Linked DNA regions of Homo sapiens: region 2 is linked to region 1. Evidence: promoter capture Hi-C in 16 types of primary human blood cells and fetal thymus (Javierre and others, 2016). All regions are on one chromosome and are shown on one strand. The core of a region is centred on a gene start or on the middle of the fragment in contact, and the rest is flanking DNA. Distances in the headings are between cores, read along the strand shown. Region 1 holds the start of INTS14 (integrator complex subunit 14). Region 2 overlaps LOC105370866 (a long non-coding RNA gene).

Region 1 (6,044 bases), core at 1,977-4,476:
TTTTAGTAAAATGAATGCCAAATATAAAAATGAAAGGACTAGTAAAGTCATAAACCAAATTAGACAAATTGGAAATCATTACACATAACAAAAGTAATAAACTGTCAGCCTCAGTAGTATTCATTGTACATAAACTGGCCAATGGTGCTTCAACTGTGAAGGAAAAGAACAAAATTAAAGAATATGTAAGGTCGGGCACAGTGGCTCATGCCTGTAATCCCAACACTTTGAGAGGCCCAGGTGGGCGGATCTCTTGAGGTCAGGAGTTCGAGACCAGCCTGGCCAATATGGTGAAACCCTGTCTCTACTAAAAATACAAAAATCAGCCAGGCATGGTGGCTACTTGGGAGGCTGAGGCACGAAGATCCCTTGAACACAGGAGGTGGAAGTTGTAGTGAGCCGAGATCGTGCCACTGCACTCCAGCCTTCCAGCCTGGGTGACAGACGAAGGCTCCATCTCAAAAAAAAAAAAAAAAAAAAAAAAATTTATACAGCTGGAATTATCTCATGAAATTGGGTAGAAAAGTCAAAATGTACAAATGGAGTTATTCAAAATTATGGATTGAGAATTAGCATAAAGAAAACATTTTGGTGCTCAAAAATAAAAAAGTTTACAGATACACAGACCTGCTCATGGGTATATAGCCTGCTGCTACTCTATTATTAAGCAAACTGTAGGCTACTGACATGATGAAATATCATAAAACTATAAATAAATGACATATGTACTACAGATATCAGAAATACTTATAGAAAGCATTAGTAACTGAGAAAAGCAGGCCCCAGAACTGTATTATACACTGCTTACAACTTCATAAAAATCATAATGCAAATATACAATTAGAGAGATTAGGTGGATATAAACAGGTTAGAAATTTAATGTTCACAACTTTCTTTTTTGGGATTAACTTCAAAACATTTAACAGTAGCCAGATTACTTGTTTAAGGATGGTGCCCAGCTGCAAATGTGTCATATTCTAAAATTCCATTTGTTCTTTTTTGTTTTTGAGACGGAGTCTTGCGACATCTGTCGCCCAGGCTGGAGTGCAGTGGCGCGATCTCCGCTCACTGCAAGCACCGCCTCCCGGGTTCACGCCATTCTCCTGCCTCAGCCTCCCGAGTAGCCGGGACTACAGGCGCGAGTAGCCAGGACTACAGGCGCGTGTCACCACACTCGGCTAATTTTTGTATTTTTAGTAGAGATGGGGTTTCACCACATTGGCCAGGCTGGTCTCGAACTTCTGACCTCGACATTGGCCAGGCTGGTCTCGAACTTCTGACCTCGTGATCCACCTGCCTCTGCCTCCCAAAGTGCTGGGATTACAGGCGTGAGCCACCGCGCCCAGCCAAAATTCCATTTGTAAGTAGGCTGTTTCGAACTCAGAATACACTGGTTCATGGAAACAATGTTTACAACTCAGGTTGTAAGCATAGGCGTAAAAGAAGAAACTGAAAGTTCCTGAAGGATGGTTCACTCAAGCAGTATAGGCCCGACTGAAAAAAAAAAAGTGAGGTCCTGCACAATATTGGTTCAACTACACTATATTAGACCATAACATACGCTCACTAAGGGCAGGGACCATGCCACATTTTGCCCATGATGTCTCCTCAAAACTTATCACAGTAACTGGCACATAGTAGGTGCCCAACAATTTGATAACAACTGATGAACTACCCCTAAATCACCAGATATACCATATATTATTTAGCAAAATACATTATAAATGTTAACTCTGGACACCAGAAACACATTTCCTCTTCTCCTCATTCAAGCAGACATATGGGGGACTCCCTCACGTCTGCCCAGCTCCTGTGGTAGTCCCATTCATGCAGGGAGGCCTTTTTACAAGTTGAGGATCATGAGGAGTACTGCCCTCACCTCTTAGGAGAATGGGAGGAAACAGTTTACACAGACTTAGATCAAATACAAAAAAGCACTTTCAGCCCGTGAAATCTGCTGTTGACAGTGATGACAGCTGGCAGTCTTGCCTTCTCTGAAGACACCTCTGGAGCTGGCTCTTTCTCCCAAGTGATGCATTTGTGTCGACTCCCAAATGCACCTCATTAACAGTTACAAAGTCGTGGGAGATCAATTTAGTACTCAGGTTGGAGTAAAGGAGGGAACTGAAAGTTCCTGAAGGATAGTTCACTCAAGCAGTATAGGCCTGATTAAAAAAAAAAAAGGCCAGGCACGCCTTTAATCCCAGCACTTTGGGAGGCTGAGGCGGGCAGATCACCCGAGGTCAGGAGTTCGAGACCAGTCTGACCAACATGGTGAAACCCCATCTCTACTAAAAATACAAAAATTAGCCAGATGTGGTGGCGTGCGCCTGTGGTTCTAGTACTTGGGAGGCTGAAATAGGAGAATTGCTTGAACCCAGGAGGCAGAGGTTGCAGTGAGCCGAGATCGCGCCACTGCTCTTCAGCCTGGGCGACAGAGCGAGACTCCGTCTTGGGTGGGGGGGAATCCCTGCCCACCACAGTCTACCAATTTTGTGAGCACAACACTATGTATTCCTCACTTGGGTGGATTCTGAGCCCCCAAGTCTCCCACCCCCACCCCCTTCCCACGTGTACTGTTCAAACAACTAGGGCTCTTCTTTCTCAGGAACAGTCTGAGAAATAGGCCCTAGCCACCTATTTGGCCTTGAATACCAAGTGTCCATCAGCTAGACGTTTGTAATTCTTCCCTGAAGGTGATAATTAGCTCATTCATAAAGAACTGATTCTCAGCAGTCTCGCTCTCAAAGCAGGATTCTACCTGAATTTCTAGTGCCTCACCTGCTCTTTGGCTTTCCCGTCAGCCTCCGGGAGTCCCTCCCCAGTTCTCAGATATAATTTCATCTCTAAAAGTCCAGACTGAAAATCACATCTGGGAGATGTATTTTTACCTTAAAAATCAGTCAAGAAAATGTGGGATCTGGAAGTCTCTCTTGGAAAGAGGGGGCAGAGGGGAGCTGAGCAGAGGGCGAAATCGTGCAGTTTACGCGGAGCTGGGGACCCCGAGCCTCAGAGCGAGGGGAGGCCGGGAGCAGCGCCCCGGAACTGGCGCCTCACAGACAGCGCGGGGCGGCCGCCACGGTGGCGGGAAGGCCAAGCGCTGGCCCTGGGTTGTTCTTCACCCATAACCCCTTCACCTGTAACCCCAACAAGCAGCGAAAGGCAGTCCCGGGCCCTCGGCCTCCCCACTCACCCCGTGCCCATCGCCGGACACAGTCCGTCGGCATAAACTTTCCGTCGGCATAAACTTTCCGTCCGCGCGCCACAGCCGGAACTATAAGGCCGCGCGACAGAAGGGAATCCGGCGCCTGCACTCCGCGCTGGGCGGGGCGGTCCTTGGAGAGCTTCAGGGTCGCCCGGGCAGGGTTCTGGCTCATCCCGGAGGGACGCTAGGGGGCGCGGCCTCTCTTCGCGATGGCCAATCCGCGGCCACCCCTCTCCTCCCACAAATCCCCAACTTCTCTCGAGCCTTGGCTGGGTTTCCTGCCGTGTCTCTCTGCATTGCCCTGAATCTCTCCCCATTCTCGGGCTCTTTCCTTCCCCTTCTGCCCCACTGACCCATGGGCCTCACCTGGCCCGGTGACTCTGTGTCCGCTTCACACTTTTGTCCCCTCACTCCCCTGGGCCCCGTCGGTGCACGAGCCCAACCCTTCCTGCTATTTTCCTCGTCACTCTTTAGCCCCCTCTCTCGTATCCTCTGAACCGGTTGACAGAATCCTCTTCCTGTTCTTTTTAAACTGCAATTCCTGAACTACAAATCCTGGCCGGGCGTGGTGGTTCAGGCCTGTAATCCCAGCACTTTGGGAGGCCAAGGTGGGCGGATCGCTTCAGGTCAGGAGTTTGAGACCAGCCTGGGAAACATGGTGAAACCCCGCTCTCTACTAAAATACAAAAATTAGCCGGGCATGGTAACGAGTGCCTGTAATCCCAGCTACTTGGGAGGCTAACGCACGAGAATCTTGGGGGGAAAAACCCCAAAACTGTAATTCCTGGCTGAGGTATGCTTTGTATATCCTTCTTAGCTGACCTGAGCCCAATTTACCTCAAGACTTGGCCTCTTGGTCTCCTCAGCCCAAATGCTCACTTTATTTCCCCTATCCCCTCTTTGAGGGAAGCAGAGGGCCCTCGTTCCTCTCACCCTGGACAAGGCATGCGTGCTCAGATTTCCCTGTAAGGCAACATGGGCTCTTGCCTGCCACTCTGGCCACCTGGTGTCTCCATTGTAGTCTGTGCCTCAGTGAGGTCCTTAAGAGGGCAAGAGGTGACTTTCTTTCTAACCATGTAGGGAGCCAGGGAATCCCAGCTAGAGATAGGCTTAGATGGATGCCAGCAGGCCCCTGGGTAGTTACGGTTCAAAGAACAATGTGGAACCACATAGGTTACAAAGTGAGTACAGAAAGGCCTCTAGAAGGCCTCAGGCATTTGCCTTTTTCTTTTAGCTGATAGGATGGGGCGAGATTAGGAGATGGGACGAGGAAGGAGGATGCTTTGAACTGAACAGACAAATCTGTCTGACTTCTCACAGCTTGTTATGTGGGAGATTGTGGGGCCAGTTGCTTGTAGTTTTTTCCTGTCCCTGGGAATATCCCTGCCAGCACTGGGGCCAGGGCCCTGCAGACTGCCCTATTTGCTTCAAAACTTCTTTCCCCAACCTGGCTGATCTCACCATGTCAAGACCTAGTTATGCTTGAGCAGGCATTGGGCTCCAGGTAAGTAAGGCTGCAGCCTGATAACTTAGTCATGATTTCTAATCTTGCCCTATTGGGAGGGATGTGGCCAAGAATGTGTGGGTAAGCAAGTGTCTAGTTACCCCTAATGTGACAACGACTTAGCCATAGGGTTACTGTCCTCGTGGTAATTCTGGCTCAGTTGCAGGGTCTGATTCATTACCTTACCCAACCCTAAAGCTTAAGTTAGTTCACTGATGGATGATCAAATCTTGTGACCTAGTTCTTCTGAATAACAGGCTTTGGGAGACTTGGAAAGCAAAAAATCAATATATTAAATTGATGATAAAAGGCACAGCTACCAGGAGGACTGTGTTACTTAGGGCAACTAGTTTGTTTGTTTGTTTTTCCTCCTTAGTGGAATCCCATTACAAATCAGAAGGTTGTTCAGTGACTATAACATCAGAGAACATCAGCACAAAGGTTAGAAGGTTTTAAAGGGGGTGTCTTTCAAGCCATCACTGGCTGATGAATTTCTTTTCCCCACTCAAACGACCCTCAGCATTTGCGTGTTTCCACACACACATTAAAGGAAATCAATAAATAGTTTCCTTTGCATAATCTCTCATTCCCTTTATTTTTTCCTGCCTTGAAACAGTGGACTGCTGTCCCAAAGGCTTTGAAAGGCAGTGTTTGATCCCCAGTCTGACAGAGGAAAGGTTTATGACAGAAAAACCATGGCTCTCACAGGGGCTAGGTACTGGGGAGCTCAAAGGGAAGTCTAGATATCTCAATCTCCCAGAGCACGTGTTGAAAATGCAGATTCCCAGACCTTGCCAAGTGAAATGGAAATGAAATTTCATGACTTCGTGCTTGAGAATCTTTGCTGTTAAGTTCCCAGGGTGATTTTGTGTGTGTGTGTGTGTGTGTGTGGTGACAGGGTCTTTGTCACCCAGGCTGGAGTGCAGTGGCATGGTCATGGCTTCTTGCAGCCTTGACTTCCTGAATTTAAGCAATCCCCCCCAACCTCAACCTCCCACGTAGCTGGGACTACAGGCATGTGCCACCATGCCTGGCTAATTTTTAAATTTTTTGTAGAGATGGGGGTCTCACTATGTTGCCCAGAGTGGTCTTGAACTCCTGATTTCAAGCGATCCTCCCTCCTTGGCCTCCCAAAGTGCCAGGATTACAGGCATGAGCCACTACATTTGGCCCCAAGATGATTTTTCATCTACAGAGATAAGGGATAGGGAATGAGTAAGTGAAGAAAAGGCTGAGGGGTGGGGGAAGAGCAGTGGGCCTACTTCTCTTTTGCATTCTTCCCGCTCTTCTCATACTCCCATGATGTCCTTTGCCCTGCATTTCCCTTTCTGCCCC
Region 2 (6,044 bases), core at 1,242-3,741, 240 kb after region 1:
ATGTTCTGCCTCAGGAGATACTGCTTCTCTTTGCAAAGGGTGCATTATAGGGTTTAGTTTGGGTTTGCATTCTCTGTCAACAGGCAGACTATTGCCTACTTTTAAATCTAGGATGCAAAGAAGTCTTCGTTAGCTCTGGCAGGTGAAGTTTTGATATAGAACTATATATATTCCCACATCTTTCCCTCAAATGTTAGCCCATTAGACCAAACTTTCCAGAAAATGACAGATTTATTTGTTCAAGACATGCACTGTCCAATAAGGACGTCACTAACCACATTTCACCTTGTTCACATGTCACCCTTGTGGTCACTTGGAATTGAGATGCACTGTAAGTGCAAAATACACACTGAATATAAAAAAGATGTAAAATATGTCCTTAATAATTGTTATACGGATTACATGTTGATTTTATATATATATATATATATATATTTTTTTTTTTTTTTTTTTTTTTTTTGAGATGGAGTCTTGCTCTGTCACCAAGGCTGGAGTATAGTGGTGCAATCTCAGCTCACTGCAACCTCCGCCTCCTGGGTTCCAGGAATTCTGCCTCAGCCTCCCGAGTAGCTGGGATTACAGGCATGCGCCACCACGCCCAGCAAATTTTTTTGTATTTTTAGTAGAGACAGGGTTTCACCATATTGGCCCGGCTGGTCTCAAACTCCTGACCTTGTGATCCACCTGCCTTAACCTTCCAAAGTGCTGGGATTACAGGTATGAGCCACTGCACCTGGCCTGATAATATTTTTAATATATGGCCAGGAACGGTGGCTTTTGGAGGCTGAGGCAGGTGGATCACCTGATGTCAGGAGTTCGAGACCAGCCTGAGCAACATGGTGAAACCCCATCTCTACTTCAAATACAAAAAAATTAGCCGGGCTTGGTGGCACATGCCTGTAATCCCAGCTACTTGGGAGGCTGAGGCAGGAGAATCGTTTGAACCTGGGAGGCGGAGGTTGCAGTGAACCGAGATCGCGCCATTGCACTCCAGCCTGGGCAACAAGAGTGAAACTCTGTCTCAAAAAAAAAAAATTTAGATATATATTAAGTTGAATTAACTATATTGTTTGTCTCACCTGTTTTTTTTCTTTTTTTGAGACAGAGTTTTGCTCTATCGCCCAGGCTGGAATGCAGTGGTGCGATCTCAGCTCACTGCAACCTCTGCCTCCAGGTTTAAGAGATTTGCTTGCCTCGGCTACCTGAGTAGCTGGGATTACAGGGATGCACTACCACGCCCAGCTAATTTTTGTATTTTTAGTAGAGACGGGGTTTTGCCATGTTGGCCTCTGCATGCTGGTCTTGAAATCCTGGCCTCAAGTGATCTGCCTGCTTCAGCCTCCCAAAGTGCTGGGATTACAGGTGTGAGGCACTGCACCTGGCCAATTTCACCTGTTTCTTTTTCCTTTAAAAAATAATGTGGCTTTAACTGGCAGCTCTGGTGTAATTAAAACAACAACAACAACAACAACAAAAACAGCAGCTACAAGAAAATTTAAAATTACTTATGTGGCCTATATTATGTTTCTGTTGGACAGTGCTGCTATAGAGTGTCCTACAAACAAGGAAACCCATAAATTCTCTAATAAGAACTTCTTTCTGTCTGTCATTCTTTTCCTGTACTCCCACTCACCATTTTTTTTTTTTTTACAATGTCATGATTTTTGGTATAAGTTAATGCTCTACTACTGCAATCCAGGCAAATGTACAGGGGATAGTATCTCACCTGAGTGAAGTCCAAAGGTCAGCATATAGATGAACATTGAATATAATAAAAATTGCCTTTGGAAATCTTTTAGGAAGGCCTCAAGCTGTCCCAATCTTTTAACTCTCACCCAGTTTTTCCCCTAGCATTAGGACAGATCATTGTTTTTTCAGGTACTATTAATAGTTGGAGAAGTACTTGTTTGTGTTTGGTACAGTATTATAGCAAAATACAAATCTAAGTTCAGAATCCCCCTCAGCCTGGAGAGATGCCCGACTATGAGAAGCAGAAGGTTCCTGTGGGTGCCTGAGGTTTACACTTCTTGTTCACTTGGGGTGTACATTCACTGAGTGCCAGAGAGGAGGGCCTTGCCTGCTCTGTTTATTTCTCTCTCTTACCTCCAATCAATTTTTCTCTATTTCCCTAATTTTGTGTTTGGTAAGTTCCTGTAGTTGTATTTACATACCTTAGTATGTAAAGATCTCTCTCTTCCCCAGATTCTGTAGATATATGATTTGAAAGGTATAACTAAAGGCCAAAAATGAAATTGCAAAGCTAATGTGAATGTACTTAATGCCACTGAACTGTACACTTAAACATGGTTAAAATGGTAAAGTTATGTTATATACATACTGCTGGGCATGGTGGTTCATGCCTATAATCCCAGCACTTTGGGAGGCTAAGTCAGGTGGATGGCTTGAGCCCAGGAGTTTGAGACCAACCTGGGCAACATGGCAAAACCTCGTCTTTACAAAAAATATATATATATAAAAAATTAGCTGGGTGTAGTGGTGTGCACCTGTAGTCCCAGCTACTCAGGAGGCTGAGATGGTAGGATGGCTTGAGCCTGAGAGGTCAAGGCTGCAGTGAGCCGTGATTGTGCCCCTGCACTCCAGCCCACACAACAGAGTGAGATCCTGTCTCAAAACAAACAACCAAACCCAAAAGTTATGTTGTATATTTTTTACCACAATTTTTAAAAGCCATAATGAAGCATACTTACATCTTGTGGGGAGAGAATGTGGGACTCTGACATGAGACAGAATTGGTGACTGGAAATGTCACAGATTGAGTTCACTCTTTCCAGACTGTGGATGGGGTCATCCCTGCAGCCCTTCTTCTAGCATGTCTCCTTCAGCTTCCTATTCATTCTGGGGGCTGCTCAATATCCCTCTGACTAAGGCCCCCTTTTTGGGCTGAACTTAGCCAGTTCTTTTTGTTTGCAACCAAAATAGCCCTAACTGATGCGCTAGGGTTCAGATCCTGGCTCTACCACATTTAAGCGTTTGCTCTTGTGTACATCTTTCTGAATCTTGGTTTTCTCATCTGCAAATTTGTCATCATAATATCTTCCTTACAGGGTAGAGCCAGGGTAAAAGATAGTATACGTGCCTAGAATTGTAACTCATAGTCCAATGGGGTTAGAAAACTAACAAGGGCAGTCTCTGGTCCCCTAGTTTACACTGGTGAGTTATTCCACCAGAATGTCAAATGCCTTATGTGGGAAATATGGGAATAATGAGGATTTCGTGTTTGTCAAATTTCTATTTGCTGCTGCACTTCAACACTGTCTCCTCTATACCGATCTTCCCTCAGGGGTTGAGGGGTAACACCATTCATGACACTACAGCATGAAATAATGGGATGAGGGAAGGAGACAAGAATCTATCTCTCTGAAAATGTCTGATCAATGAATAATCAGATGGAAAATGTAAAAAATAAAATTTGTCCAACGGGGTTTATAGTGAAGTCTTTTAAAATAGCTGACGTTGGCCAGGTGTGGTGGCTCACGCCTGTCATCCCAGCACTTTGGGAGGCCGAGATGGGTGGATCATGAAGTCAAGGGTTCGAGAGTAACCTGGCCTGCATGATGAAACCCTGTCTCTACTAAAAATACAAAAATTAGCTGGGCGTAGAGGCACACTCCTGTAATCCTAGCTACTCAGGAAGCTGAGGCAGGAGGATTGGTTGCAGTGAGCTGAGATCATGCCACTGTAACTCCAGCCTGGGGGGACAGAGCGAGACTCCATCTCAGAAAAAAAAAATTAATTAATTAATTAAATTAAATTAAATAGCTGACACTGGAGAGAATGGCTAATAACTGCTTTAGGATTTAGTTCTATTAAATAATTTTTGTTTTTTTTTTTTTTGAGACAGAGACTTACTCTGCTGCCCAGGCCCAGGCTGGAGTGCAATGGCACGATCTCAGCTCACTGCAACCTCCGTCTCCCGGGTTCAAGCGATTCTTTGTGCCTCAGCCTCCCAAGTGGCTGGGATTACAGGCATGTGCCACCACATTTGGCTAATTCTTGTATTTTTGGTAGAGACAGGGTTTCACCATGTTGGCCAAGCTGGTCTCGAACCCCTGACCTCAAGTGATCTGTCCACCTCAGCCTCCCAAAGTGCTGGGATTACAGGCGTGAGCCACTGCGCCTGGCCTTAAATTTGTTTTGATGATTACTTCAGTCCATGTTACATTGTTGTGTATATGATAACGCATGGAATTGTAATGGGATTCTACTGCACTTTACCACACAAAGCAGGATGGGGATAAAAATGAAAAGACTCAGTAACAAAGCTCTCCAGATGTTGTAGCTTTTATACACTCTTCCTTTGCCCCCCAAATCAACCCTTACTGCCAATATCAGAATACTTAAAAGTGTTTTCATTGAATTATTTATGTCTTTGTCTTCCTTAGGCTACAAGTGCAAAAAGCTGAATGAAAAATGGAAAGGTTACTGCTGAAATATTTACAGATGGAAGGATATGATGTCTAGAATTTGTTTCAAACAGTAAGTATGTGGGTGGGGCAAGTAGCTGGTGATGTAGATGGAATAAGACTGGTCACAGGTTAATGTTTTAAGGTGCTAGGTACTAGTAGATGGGGTTCATTATTTTATTCTGTCTATTTTGCATATGTTTAAAATTTGTCACAATACTTTTTAAAATTGGATAATTACACTACTTAAAATATGCATGTGTGAAGCAAAGACTGAAAGAGAACAAGAAAAATAAAGTTATGTTGGGTTTAGAGTAGCTGAATTATAGGTGAATTACTTTTTAAAACTTTAATATTATTCTAATTTTATCTTTCAATAAATAAAAATCCGAAGGAAAAACACACACAAAAACTCTTTGAATGTAAGGACCAGTGGCATGCTGGAGGTGGCTTGTTATCAGCTTGAGAGAACTGATTGTTAAATTTTCAGGAATTTTGCATCCTGGCTAATGTTATGTGGGCAGCTTGAAATTGACCATGGTAGGAGTATTTATACCTGAAAATTAGCAAACACTACAAATCAGTATTCCCAAAAGCCAGTTGTTAAACATTTGCCATTTGTGGGCTGTATTGTAAAGACTGCATTGTATACTTTTCTACCCCAAATTATCTAAAGGTCCTGAAGTCAATGGGCAGGTACTTACTAATTTATTTTACACATATTTAATGAGGTTCTACCATGGGCAAGAAATCGTGCTAGGCACTTTGGGGAATACAAAGAATTATCTAAGAAAGGAGGAGAGGATATCCTAAAGTTCGTGTGAGAACATACATGTAAAAAATTATGCAGGCTGGGCACGGTGGCTCACGCCTGTAATCCCAGCACTTTGGGAGGCTGAAGTGGGTGGATCACCTGAGGTCAGGAGTTTGAGACCAGCCTGGCCAACATGGCGAAACCCCAACTCTACCAAAAATACAAAAATTAGCCAGGAGTGGTGGTGGACGCCTGTAATCCCAGCTACTCGGGAGGCTGAGGTAGGAGAATTGCTTGAACCCGGGAGGTGGAGGTTGCAGTGAGCCAAGATCATGCCACTGCACTCTAGCCTGGGCAACAGAGCAAGACTCTGTCTAAAAAAAAAAAAAATTACAATACAAATATGGCAATATAGGGGTGCTGAGGCAGGAGGACTGCTTGAGGCCAGGAGTTCCAGACCAGCCTGGGCAACATAGTGAGACTCCCTGACTCTATTTTTTTTTTCTTTGAGACAGGGTCTTCCTGAGTCACCCAGGCTGGAGTACAGTGGCGCAATCTTGGGTCACTGCAGCCTTGACCTCCCGGGCTCAAGCAATCCTCCCACATCATCCTCCCAAGTAGCTGGGACTACAAGTGTGCCATCACGCCTGGCTCATTTTTGTATGCTTTGTAGAGATGGGGTTTCACCATGTTGCCCAGGCTGGAATCGAACTCTTAGATTCGAACCATCTGCCCACCTCAGCCTCCCAAAATGTTGGCATTACAGGTGTGAGCCACCTCACCCAGCCTGCCCTGACTCTATTAAGAAAAAAGAAAACTTGCCATTCAGCTACAAGGAATGTAGCTGGTTGACAGCCTCCAGCTGC

The links. The method cuts DNA at HindIII sites, captures the fragments that hold promoters and counts their contacts. A CHiCAGO score of 5 or more calls a contact.
Region 2: a fragment that was not itself captured here is called in contact with the fragment with the promoter of INTS14 in region 1 in 7 of 17 cell types (M2 macrophages, activated CD4 T cells, naive CD8 T cells and 4 more); the score reaches 8.3 in M2 macrophages.

Annotation. Positions count from the first base shown.
Region 1 is chr15:65,607,905-65,613,948 of GRCh38, forward strand. INTS14 (integrator complex subunit 14) reads right to left here and starts at 3,227. Exons shown (of 12, transcript NM_001394796.1): 1 at 3,194-3,227. It also overlaps a transcript of SLC24A1 not described here. RefSeq lists an enhancer at 3,145-3,304. The HindIII fragment of the contact is 5,572 bases long and covers 1-4,905 here.
Region 2 is chr15:65,846,461-65,852,504 of GRCh38, forward strand. LOC105370866 (a long non-coding RNA gene) reads left to right here. Exons shown (of 3, transcript XR_932372.2): 2 at 4,404-4,497. Among named protein-coding and RNA genes, the nearest start is that of TRQ-CTG1-4, 20 kb to the right of the region's middle. The HindIII fragment of the contact is 9,163 bases long and covers 1-6,044 here.